3 separate regions of the Homo sapiens genome follow, and regions 1 and 3 are each linked to region 2. The links are contacts of gene promoters, found by promoter capture Hi-C in blood cells and fetal thymus (Javierre and others, 2016). All regions are on one chromosome and are shown on one strand. The core of a region is centred on a gene start or on the middle of the fragment in contact, and the rest is flanking DNA. Distances in the headings are between cores, read along the strand shown.

Region 1 (4,201 bases), core at 949-3,448, 220 kb before region 2:
TCAGCCTCCCAAGGAGCTGGGACTACAGGCGTGTGCCACCATGCCCAGCTAATTTTGTATTTTTAGTAGAGAGGGGGTTTCACCATGTTGGACAGGATGGTCTCGATCTCCTGACCTCATGATCCGCCCGCCTTGGCCCTCCAAAGTGCTGGGATTGCAGGTGTGAGCCACTGCACCCAGCCTCTAGCCAAGTATTTTAATCAACACTTAAATGTGCTCAGCTAGGTGCTTCCCAACTTTTGGGCATCTGATTCAATGTCAGGGAATTGCTGGAATTTAGTGTAACTTTACAGTGCTCGATGTTGTCTCCCTGTCTCAGGAAAAATGAAGACTTTCCTTCATTTACAATGACTCCAGGACCCCATTCTTCTTTGCCTTTCAAATCCCACTTCAAAGCCTTGAAGTCTTTTTACTTCTCTTTTGGTGAGATAATGCATTTGAACTACCTGGACTATGAATATTCACTCAACAAATACTAACTTCCAATTTCCTTCTCCACCTTCATTCCAGTGATTATTGGAATAGCTTCCTTCCCAATGGTTTATTTTTGCACCAAGGATATCACAAGAATCTAAGTAGCTCCCTGGATGACTTCTGAAATATTTACATTGTCCTTTTCTTACACATTTAACTTTTGGACATACCACTGCTTAGGTATGAGGAAAAAACACCAAGTGAGAGTGGAACTGACACATCATGGTCAATGAACGCAAGGATGATGAGCTGACACACTGCATTTTGGCAAGGGCGGTTAACTTCCAATGACCCTGAATGCTGTACCCTTCTACTTCTGATTCAGAGGGAAATAATTTCCTTTTATCCTATCCTTTTCAACACTGCCCAAACGGTTTTTCTCTATATGTCAAAGCAAAAGTTTCTTTAACTGCAGATAAACTGCCTCATTTCCATGGGGCTTTAAGACTTACAAACCTAGGTAGAGTCTGTATTTCTCTTTCCATCTCCAAACCTAGCAGAAGTAAGGAATACATCCAAACCAGCTGTCCCCAAGCTTTGTGGCACCAGGGACCAGTTTCATGGAAGACAACTTTTCCATGAATTGGGACAGGAGGCGGGGGGTGGTTTGGGGAAGAAATTGTTCCACCTCAGATCATCAGGCATTAGATTCTCATAAGGAGCACACAACCTAGATCCCTCGCATGCACAGTTCTCAACAGGGTTCGCGCTCCTGTGAGAATCTGATGCCACTGCTGATCTGACAGGAGGCGGAGCTCAGGCAGTAATGCTTCTTCGTCCATGCTCAACTTCTGCTGTGCGGCCCAGGGGTTGGGGACCCCTGATCTAAATGAAGTCAAACAGACACACTCGATTCCAATCCTATGCCAACCTATCCCCAAAAACAGACTTCCAGCTTCTATAAGTAGATGGATCTTCCCTCAGGTATCACCAGATAATTTTCAGACACCACTTCATTCATGGTTCATGTAGACAGCTTTCTCCCAACAGCCTCACCAGCCATCTCTCTCCAGAGTGATTCATCTCTGATTGCAAACGCTGAGGAGCAAACCCACTTCTAGTTAAATTATCGTATGTGTTAAATCCATCTGAGCAAATGCTACCATTACACCACCCAACAGAGTTACAGAAATGCTTCCTGAAACAGGTAAGAACTGCCCTCAGATGGACAAGATGAACACACATAGAGAACCAAGAACCAAATGATTCAACCCAATGGTTTCACTAACTAGCATTGTTCGTAGCTCGCAGGATGGCTCCTTGAGGGATCAGCAGCAGTTTTCCTTTTCCTGAAGGGTTCTTGCTGTTTGTAGTTAGGTAGAGTTTAGTGCCAGGAGGCAAATTTGCCAAGTTGGCCAAATTAGTGGCTGGTAGCTGCAACGTTGCCATTACTAAAATGGTAAAGGAGAAAAAATTGTAAGATAAATTGAAACTAAGGGCAACACTCTAAAATTAAAATACAAGGCAATAAATTCTTATTTTAGAACACTAACAAGCAATAAATTCAAAGTTTGTTTCCCAGATGCACAATGCTTTAAAGACTGATATTCTTAAATATCTTGCTAATTAAAAAATAATTTATAGACCAGAAGAGCCTGCCAGAGGCTCTTTATATCTGTATATAATAGGATGATCGTACGTCCTGGTTCTGCCCAGAACAGTTCTAGGTTACACCTGTCCCACTATAATTATTAATAATGACTCTTTTTACTCTCCAAAGTACTGTGGTTTGGACGATTAATGAAATAATCACCCTGTCTATGGAGGATTACATATTTTCCCCCATTTGTTTAAAGTCAAAGTTAGGGCAAATGTGTGCTCCTAACTGGCAAGTACCATTGGCCCTCTGTATCTGTGGATTTCACATCCATGGATGTAACCTACCTCAGATAAAAAATATCCATATATTTGGCAGACAAAAGGATGAGTACATCTGTACTGAACATGTACAGACTTTTTTCTTGTCATTATTCCTTAAACAACACAGTGTAACAACTATTTACATAGCATATACATTGTTATTACATTGTTATTTACATTGTTATTAGGTATTAAGATAACCTAGAGATGATATAAAGTAAAGTACATCAGAGGATGTACATAGGTTATACGTAAACAGTACAGCATTTTACACAGGGGACTGTGGATTAGCATCTGTGGATTTTGCTATCTGCAGCAGGGGGTCCTGGAACCAATCCCCCACAGTACTGAGAAATGATTTGTTCGTGTGTGTGTGTGTATGTGGGTGTGTGTGTGTGTGTGTGTAAATTTAAAGCTAAATACTCACAGACCTTTATGTAAAATGTCCCATAAAAAAGAACAAACATTTCAATACACTTCTTACAGCATCAACCTAACTAGGCTTTCCTAGACCAGATCAAATAGCAAATAAAATCACTAGCAAAGGAAATTTTGGACAGAGCTTCTGCTGAAAGGGCTCCCAGTGATGATCCGTTTTACCTGAACCCTGGGATCCACTCTTCTGAGGACCAGCGGCAGTAACCTGGGCCTTGGTTAAGGTCTGCACTGGCTGAGCAACAATGGTTCCTCCACCTCCACTCACAATTGCTTTGGCAACTCCTTGGGTTACAACTTGCTTTGGCCCAACTGCTTTGGAGACAGAAGAGCTGGCCTTGGCTACCAGGATCTGGCCACCACTGATCGCCACAGCCTGCTTCACTGTTGAAGGTAAAGCAGACCCAACTGGTACCCCGACAACCTGTTCAAAACAGAGCAGAGTCCAACGGTGCTTCGAGAGCTCTTAGAACAGCAGTCACCGTTTTGGCAGAGAGCAAAACAAAGGCCTGCACATAATACATGCAGCCTAATTCAGTCATCTAGGAAAGCTACCTACACAGGTGTGAACGGCAACTGTATTTCTTACACTTGGGTATTACAATAATAGAAGCTTAACAATTGTTGTCTTGCCTCAGCTACTTTTTATAATTTACTTTAATAGAAAATTTGGGAAATTCAGAAGTATAAAGAAAAAAGTTTGGCCGGGCGTGGTGGCTCATGCCTGTAATCCCAGCACTTTGGGAGGCCAAGGCAGGAGGAGCATTTGTGGTCAGGAGTTCGAGACCAGCCTGGCCAACATGGTGAAATCCAATCTCTACTAAAAATACAAAAATTAGCTGGGCATGGTGGCACACACCTGTAGTCCCAGCTACTCTGGAGGCTGAGGTAGGAGAATCCCCTGAACCTAGGATGTGGAGGTTGCAGTGAGCCAAGATCATGCCACTGCACTCCAGCCTGGGTGACAGAGTGAGACTCTGTCTAAAAAAAAAAAAAAAAAAAAAAAAAAATTAGCCAGTACAGTGGCACACATCTGTAGTCCCAGCTATTCAGGAGGCTGAGGCAGGGGAGGATCCCTTGAGCCTAGGAGTTCAAGGCTGCACTGAGCCGTGATCACACCACTGCCCTCCAGCCTGGGTGACAGAGCAAGACCCTAAGAAAAGAAAAAAAAAAAAAAAAAAAAAAGGCAAGAATAATATTTAACTATTAAAAAAAAAAAAGACCCCAGTACCCAAATAATGAAAATTAGAAGTATCTAGTTCCAAAAGTAAAATGAATTCTTTTAAGAAAATACTCAGGAGTGTTTTTAAAACAAAGTCAACAGTAGGATGTTAAATTAAACACTGAATGAATGGCAAACTGGAGCAGTGTTTCCCACTCCCAGCACCTTATTTCATAAAAAGAACTTCTCACCAGAAACTAGATGAACAGA
Region 2 (4,462 bases), core at 1,073-3,572:
GTCCCAGCTACTTGGGAGGCTGAGGCAGGAGAATCGCTTGAACCTGGGAAGCGGAGGTCGCAGTGAGCTGAGATCGCACCACTGTACTCTAGCCTGGGCAACAGAGTAAGACTCCGTCTCAAAAACAAACAAACAAACAAACCTAAACTCCAAATTTTCTTGTAATTTTTATTAGAGTAAAATAAACCTATAAATGTATTCGGAAAGAATTGGTCCTTTTAATAATATTTAGTCTTTCCATAAAGGAACTTGGTATATTTATTTAAGTTTTCTTTCGAAACTCTTAGTAAAGTTTGTTAGTTTTCTTTATGTTGCTGGTTGCTGTTATTGCTAGGCATTTACATATGTTTTATTACCATTGTGAATGGCATTATTTTTCCATGACTTTTTTTTTTTTTTTGAGGCAGAGTTTCGCTCTTATTGCCCAGGCTGGAGTGCAATGGCACAATCTCAGCTCACTGCAACCTCCACCTCCCGGGTTCAAGCGATTCTCCTTCCTCAGCCTCCCAAGTAGCTGGGATTACAGGTGTACGCCACCGCGACTGGCTAATTTTTGTATTTTTAGTAGAGATGGGGGTTTCACCATGTTGCTCAGGCTGGTCTTGAGCTCCTGACCTTGTGATCCCCCTGCCTTGGTCTCCCAAAGTGCTGGGATTACAGGCATGAGCCACCACGCCCGGCCGTCAGGTTTCTTTATATGCTCCATTATAATCTTTTGGGACCACAATTGTATATTCAGTCCATCATCGATTGAAATGTCATTGTGCTGGGCATGACTGTACTTGTGACCGTTAATTTTAGATGTCAAGTTTACTGGGCTAAGAAATACCTAGCAACCTGTTAAAGCATTACCATGGGGCGTGTCTGTGAGGTTGTTTCCAGGAGAGATTAGTGAGTCTGAGTGGACTCGGTAGAGAAGATACACTCTCAGTGTGGGTGGGCACCATCCAATCAGCCAGGGGCCCAGAGAAAACAAAAACAGAAGAAAGGTCGATGTCTCTATCTCCTGAGGCTGGGATACAGTCATCTCCTGCCTTGAACAACAGGACTCCAGGATCCCCTGCCTTTGGACTTCAGGACTTACACCAGTCTCCCCACCCCCTGGATTCTCAGGCCTTTGGCTTTGGACTGAGAGTTATACCATCTTCTCTGGTTCTGAGGCCTTTGGACTTGAACTGAGCTCTCAGCAGTCTGTCATGCGACTTCTCAGTCTCCATAATCACGTGAGCCAATTCCCCTAATAATTTCCCTCTGCTATGCCTCTCTAGGTATCCTTTTGGTTCTGTCTCTCTGGAGTCCATCATCGACTGAAATATCATTATGCTGGGTATGACTGTAATTGTAATGGTTAATTTTAGATGTCAAGTTTGCTGGGCTAAGAAATACCTAGCAACCTGGTAAAGCATTACTGTTGGGCGTGAGAGAACGCTAACTGATACGCTCCTATAACTTCCCCAGGATATCATGGGATTTTAATAATGACAGTTATTACTACTTAACTGAGACATGCAGAGGTAATGAAAATACTTCAGGATCCACCGTTAGATGCACGGTCAGTAGATGTTGGGCTAATCTGAGACGTGCTATGGCAATTCGGTGTAGACCCACCCTGACTCATCCTCTGAGAAGATGCTGTTGATGGAGTTTTGGAAACCATTTCTTCTGTGCCCCCAAAGCATATTCGAAACAATAGACATTTTTTTTGGTGGGGGAAGACATGAAAGTTTGCCATGACGTTGTTTTCCCCTGGGTAGGGAGGAGGATGAAGATAGACGATCTGCAGTGCCGCCAGAAATGAGAATGTCAGGGATAAGTGGGGTTTCCATGGTTTACAAAGCACGGTTGTTGGATCATTGTGGGGTCTCAGACTCCTGGGAGGAGGAAGTGGGAGGATCATAGACTGTCTCCTGTCCATCCCCTCGCTGACGACTTGGGTTATTGAGCCACTAGGAGTACAAATGTGAAGCAGGAGGATTATAGACTGTCTCCTGTCCATCCCCTCATTGACGACTTGGGTTATTGATAGCATTAGGAGTACAAATGTAACAGCCACCACCGGAGGCTTCCTGCTCACGGATATGAGGTGGGAGATGCACCAAAATAAACACACAGCACTCACAGTGGACTCTGAGAGGACACTCCTCTTCCAGAACCCCCTCCCACACACCTATTCTAAGTAATTTCTAACCCTGTGATTACTCACAGAAAGAAGAAGAATAGAAGTTGCTGGCATTTGTAGTAACAGGATGAGAAAGTGCGAGACTTCCTGTTATGTGTGTGTGACAGCTGGTGATAAGTGGAGGGCCCTGCACAGGAAATCCGCTCAGCTCCTGCAATGGGGCCTGCCTGACACTTGGGCGCTCCTTCAGTCTCGATGTTGATGGCAGGACAAAGGGGCGCCTGGACCATGGGTGATGTGGTCGAGAAGAGTTTGGAAGGGCCCCTGGCACCTTCTACAGATGAGCCCTCCCAGAAAACAGGAGACTTGGTCGAGATCTTAAATGGGGAAAAGGTCAAATTTGACGACGCGGGACTCTCCTTAATTCTTCAGAATGGCCTGGAAACCCTGCGAATGGAAAACGCTCTGACAGATGTCATCTTGTGTGTGGACATTCAGGAATTCTCCTGCCACCGCGTGGTGCTTGCCGCAGCCAGCAACTATTTCAGGTCAGCATGCCTAGGACCAGAGTCAAATTGGGTGCAAGTTGCAAGGAAGAGGTGTGTTAGTGTGAGAGCCCAATCTTGAACAGTTGGCCATGATATTTATGGTTTACATATATATTAAGGCTTGTGTGTCTACTTAAAATATAAGAAAGGACACTATCACACTTTATTTTATTATTTATTTATTTATTTATTTTTGAGACGGAGTTTTGCTTTTGTTGCCCAGGCTGGAGTGCAATGGCGCAATCTCGGTTCACCGCAACCTCTGCCTCCTGGGTTCAAGCGATTCTCCTGCCTCAGCCTCCCGAGTAGCTGGGATTTGCAGGCATGCACCACAACACCCGGATAATTTTGTATTTTCAATAGAGATGGGGTTTCTCCATGTTGGTCAGGTTGGTCTTGAACTCCCGACCTCAGGTGATCCACCCGCCTCCGCCTCCCAAAGTGCTGGCATTACAGGTGTGAGACGCTGCGCCCGGCTTATCACACTTTAAATTTTAGGATTTAGGCCACATTAAAAGAGAGATTGGCATCATTTAAAAGCAATGCTTACATTCTATAGTAAACCTTTTGTGTATATTTCCTTGTTCCAAAGGATGGAAAATTACTGAAGTCATGGGGACTTTTTTCCCCCTTGGTCTGACTGGTGTTGGAAACATAATGTTGTCTTTGTTAATCAACAGACATAGAGAAAAAGGATGTGGCCCCTCTTCTGGAGTTGTCAAATGACTTGTTACAAATTAGGGGCTTCTTTATGTGTAGGCAGTGTGGGGAAAGGGAAAGCAGTTACAAAGATGCTTTAGATGGGAGAGGCCTCTAGTTACGATAAACTGGTGATCTCATAGTGGGAAGGCCTGAAGTCAGGAGACTTGGTTCCTTCTTGACAGTGAAACTTTAGGCAAGTCACAAAGTGCTCTGAATGTCTGTTTCATCATCTGTAAGGTGAGCACAATGATGATCACCTTTCAGGGCTGTCATAATTAAACAAGAGCGTGAAAAGGGTCCTACACAGTGTCTAGCATATAGTAAGTAGATGCTCAATATATCTTTCTTGGAATTCTTTTTCTGATTCTGCTTGATTCAGCTAAGGATGACTTATTGAGTGTTTCCCATGAGCACGTCCCTGGGGTAGGAATTTTATAGCGCTGGGAACCCAGTGAATACACCTGATCCAGTGTTCTCCATATCAGCATGGACATGGGGGAACCAGCCTGCAAGGGCAATGTGGATAATGAAGAAAGTATTTGGGAACTTGAAAAGAAATACCCTTAGAATTCTTCTTAATGAGATTCTTCTTAACTCTTGATTCTGGCTGAGGAAATTGAAAACGATTAACCTATGAAAGTATTATGGAAAGCGTTTTCTTTCTTTCTTTTTTTTTTTTTTGAGGTGCTTGGGGGGAAACGTTTCTTTGTAATTCATAGAGCAGGATCAGCAGGTTGCTGTGGGACTCATTAGGTCTCCTGTGTTGATAAGACAAGGGGATATCTGGGTTTGAGGGAAGCAGTGGCTGCTGTGTGCCAGACAGACATAGTTATCTGATTTTATTTTTGTAACAGCATGATGAAGGTGGCTGATATTTCACAGATGAGGAAATGAAAACTCAGCATTATATATCTGGTCATTGCTGGAGCAGGGACTGGGTATGTTCTGGAAATCCTTGTTACTGCAATGCAAGCTGCCACTAGGTCTGGGACTTCATTCCATGGGAAGTGTGTAAAATATAAAGTGTAAACACAGCCATCAAAATGGGTTGATATAAACACATTACTTTCTCCACCAACCTTGATCACGTGCT
Region 3 (4,145 bases), core at 1,225-3,724, 230 kb before region 2:
CAGCGTGGGCGACAGGGCAAGACTCCATCAAAAAAATAATAATAATACAGTACAATACAATATAATCTTGCAGCCATAAAAAAGAATGAGTTCATGTCCTTTGCAGGGACATGGATGAAGCTGGAAGCCATCATTCTCATCAGCAAACGAACACAGGAACAGAAAACCACACACCGCATGTTCTCACTCATAAGTGGGAACTGAACAATGAGAACACATCGACACAGGGAGGGGAACATCACACACCGTGGCCTGTTGGGGGGTGCGGGGCAAGGGAAGGGAGAGCATTAGGACAAATACCTAATGCATGTGGGGCTTAAAACCTAGATGATGGGTTGACAGGTGCAGCAAACCACCATGGCACATGTATACTTAGGTAACGAACCTGGACGTTCTACACATGTATCCTAGAACTTAAAGTAAAATTTAAAAAAATAAAATCTTCGGTTTTCACAGCTTTTGGGATTTTAGAATTGCAGATAAAGGATTATGGACTAACAACAAAAATGATCACACATGATAATGGCAGTGGCAATTGTTTATATAATGGCCACTACACACCAGACAGTATTCTAAGCACTGATATATTACAAACTCATTTAAACCTCTCAACCTTATGAAGTAGGTATTATTATCAATCTCATTTACAGCTGAGAAACTGAAGCAAATCACTTCAACTAAGGCAATGTGGTCTCAGGATGTGTGCTCTCTGTTACTCAGAAACAAAAGGTACACTTTTCTGAGGCCCTCTAGTGCAGGCACAAAGACACCATAGCTCTTACTGGATCTCCAGCCTATCACTCTAACACTAGCCAAGATAATAACTAATGTTAAAAATTATGACTTGGAGTCAACAAGGCTAAGATATATTTTATATACTTTATAAAAGCAAAGAAAGGTATACATTTTATAGTGAATTCTATTCGACACTGATTATAGGAAAAAAGAAATTAGTACTTTAAGGAAAGCAAACTCTTGGCTCTCCCCAAAATTACGTTATAAAAAAAGCTAAAATACCCAGTAGGGTTCTGCGTGGCTAAGGGTTTATTATATCATTCAAAAATTCAAATAGTAACTTTCAAATGATAATTTAAAGTCTCAGACAAAATCTGATACGTAGATTTTAAACAAAAATAATTCATCTAAAAAGCAACTGTTCAGAAAATGCTGCTGGGTTAATTACTTTTAACAATTTACCATACAAAATATTGCTTAAGACCCTCCAAAAAAATAGCTGGGCACAGTGGCTCACGCCTGTAATCCCAGCACTTTGGGAGGCTGAGGTGGGTGGACTGCTTGACCTGAGGAGTTCAACACCAGCCTGGGCAACGTGGTGAAACCCCATCTCTACCAAAAACACAAAAAATTAGCTGGGTGTGGTGACATGTGCCTGTGGTCCCTGATAATCAAGAGGCTGAGGTGGGAGGATGGCTTGAGCCTGGAAGGCAGAGGTTGCAGTGAGTCGAGATTGTGATATTGCACTCTAGCTTGGGCGACAGAGTGAGACGCTATCTCAAACAAACAAACAAAAATATTCCAGCCCAATGAGAGAAAAGAGAGAGAAATAATATCACAATGCAACTCACCGGATACTGTGGCTTTCCCAGAGATGGGGTTTGGTGTAGGCACGAGGGACGTGGCGCTGACGACGGTGGGGGTGGCAGCCTTGCAGGTTCCCACGGTGGCCTGGCTCACACACACTTGCTGCTGCCCAGAAGTTTTCGTTACAGAACTGACCGTAGATGAAGACACGGGAGCCATTCCTTCAGACTGCTCACCCATGGGGTCCGAAACAACACAGTTCAGGAAGAAAGCAGAGTGATGACTGACGGCGGTGACGGCCACACAGCACACACACTAAATATCATCTATTAGGTGTTAATGACTACTTAGTAAATGCCATACCATTTAAAAAAGATTACTTCTCTAGTTCAGTGGTTACTATACCTTTACATTTCATGGACCAAGAAAATTTAAAAAATTTAAAACAAGGAAGTATCATGGGGGTCATCATATTTTTAAAATTCACCACCTATTATATCCCTTTATAAAAGGCAACTTCATCACCAAAAAACTAGGAGGACATATTCTCAGAATATACACATGGACTAAAAATGAGCTTTATTAAGAACACATGACAATGATTCACTTCATTGAACAAACATCTACAGTCTGTCACTTCATTGAACAAACATCTACTACATGGCCGGCATAATGGTTAAGTGCTAAGGCTCTGAGAGAAAAGCGACCAAGGAAACAGTCACCTAAGTATAATGATGCTACGGCAAGCACAGGCAAATGTCACCAACACAACCAAGAAGAAAGGCACTGCTTCTGCCTAGGAATAGAAACAGGAGGGTACAGGAAAAAGCTTCAGGTAAAACATTAGGCACTTTAGAGGAATCTTCCAGATTTAAGACAGAGAAAGGGAGAGATGACAGTGTTTCCTGGCAGAGGAGAGTATGTAGAAAGTTGGTGAGGCATGAAAGAACATTGTATGTTCAAGAAGCTGCAAAGCAGAGTGGTGTCACCTGTGAAGAGGCACGGGGAAGCAGCAGCTGCAGGAGATGAAGCTTGAGAAGTCAAGCCACATCATTCAAGTCTGTGGGCTTCCAAGACGATTGAGAGATGGTTTTTCAACAAATGTTTCTAGGCCAACTGGATATTTACATAAAAAAGAATAAAGTTTGGTGTCTACCTCACACCACGTACAAAAATTAACTAGAGCGGCCAGGTGCAGTGGCTCATGCCTATAATCCCAGCACTTTGGGAGGCCAAAGCGGGTGGATCACGAGGTCAGGAGAGCAAGACCCTCCTGGCTAACATGGTGAAACCCCATCTCTACTAATACAAAAAAAAAAAAATTAGCTGGGCGTGGTGGTGGGTGCCTGTAATCTCAGCTACTCAGGAGGCTGAGGCAGGAGAATCACTTGAATCCAGGAGGTGGAGGTTGCAGTGAGCCGAGATCGCGCCACTGCACTCCAGCTTGGGTGACAGAGCGAGACTCTGTCTCAAAAAAAAAAAAAAAAAAAAAAAAAAAATTAACTCGAATGAATCTGAAACCTAAATATAAGAGCTAAATGTATAAAACTTAGAAGAAAACAAAGGCTTGAATTTTGTGGCTTTGGATTAGGCAATGGTTTCTCAGATGTGACATCAAAAGAAAAAGCAATGAAAGAAAAATAGGTAAGTTGGGACTTTAATAAAGACTTGTGCTGGGAAAACTGGATATCTTTATGCAGAAGAATGAAACTAGACCCCTAGCTCTCACCATGCAATCAAAATGGATTAAAGAGTTAAATCTAAGACATCAAACTACGAAACTACTACAAGAAAACATTAGGGAAACTCTCCAGGACATCGGTTTGGGCAAAGATTTCCTGAGTAGTACCTCAAAAGCACAGGCAACCAAAACAAAAATGTATAAATGGGATCACATCAAGTTAAAAAGCTTCTGCACAGCAAAGAAAACAATCAACAAAGAGACAGCCCACAGAATGGGAGGAAATACTGGCAAACTACATATACATCTGACAAGGGATTAATAATCAGAATATAGAAGCTCAAACAACTCTATAGAAAAAAGCCAAACAATCTCATTTGAAAATGGGCAAAAGATCTCAACACACATTTCTCAAAAGAAGACACATAAATGGCCCAAGGGGCATATAAAAAAATGCTCAACATCATTAATTGTGAGAGAAACACAAATCAAAACTACAATGAGAAAGCATCCCACCCAGTTAAAATGACTCTCATCCAAAAGGCTGGCGAGGATGTGAAGAGGGAACCCTCGTACACTGCTGGTGGGAATCTAAGTTAGTACAATCACGATAGAGAACAGTACAGAGGGTCCTCAAAAAACTGAAAATAGAACTACCATATGATCCACATCCCACTGCTAGGTATATACCCAAAACAAAGGAAATGAGTATATGAGGAGACGTCTGCACTTCCATGTTTATTACGGCACTATTCACAATAGCCAAGATTTGGAATCAACCTAAGTGTCCATCACCAGGTGAACGATAAAGAAAATGTGGTACATATACACAATACAATATTATTCCGTTATAAGAAAGAATGAAATCCTGTCATTTGCAACATGGATAGAACTGGAGGACATTATGTTAAGTGAAATAAGC

Evidence for each region. Contacts are between HindIII fragments. The CHiCAGO score rates a contact against its expected background, and 5 or more counts as called.
Region 1: a fragment that was not itself captured here is called in contact with the fragment with the promoter of KLHL6 in region 2 in 8 of 17 cell types (endothelial precursors, M2 macrophages, megakaryocytes and 5 more); the score reaches 11.0 in endothelial precursors.
Region 3: a contact is called between a fragment that was not itself captured here and the fragment with the promoter of KLHL6 in region 2, in 2 of 17 cell types (erythroblasts and M1 macrophages). The highest score is 6.8, in erythroblasts.

The regions. Positions count from the first base shown.
Region 1 is chr3:183,771,297-183,775,497 of GRCh38, reverse strand. It overlaps YEATS2 (YEATS domain containing 2), which reads right to left. Exons shown (of 31, transcript NM_018023.5): 16 at 2,935-3,193; 17 at 1,704-1,865. Among named protein-coding and RNA genes, the nearest start is that of YEATS2-AS1, 37 kb to the left of the region's middle. The HindIII fragment of the contact is 2,373 bases long and covers 1,012-3,384 here.
Region 2 is chr3:183,553,566-183,558,027 of GRCh38, reverse strand. It overlaps KLHL6 (kelch like family member 6), which reads left to right and starts at 2,322. Exons shown (of 7, transcript NM_130446.4): 1 at 2,322-2,667. The coding sequence starts at 2,375. The HindIII fragment of the contact is 8,561 bases long and covers 1-4,462 here.
Region 3 is chr3:183,788,422-183,792,566 of GRCh38, reverse strand. YEATS2 (YEATS domain containing 2) reads right to left here. Exons shown (of 31, transcript NM_018023.5): 21 at 1,587-1,770. Among named protein-coding and RNA genes, the nearest start is that of YEATS2-AS1, 20 kb to the left of the region's middle. The HindIII fragment of the contact is 202 bases long and covers 2,374-2,575 here.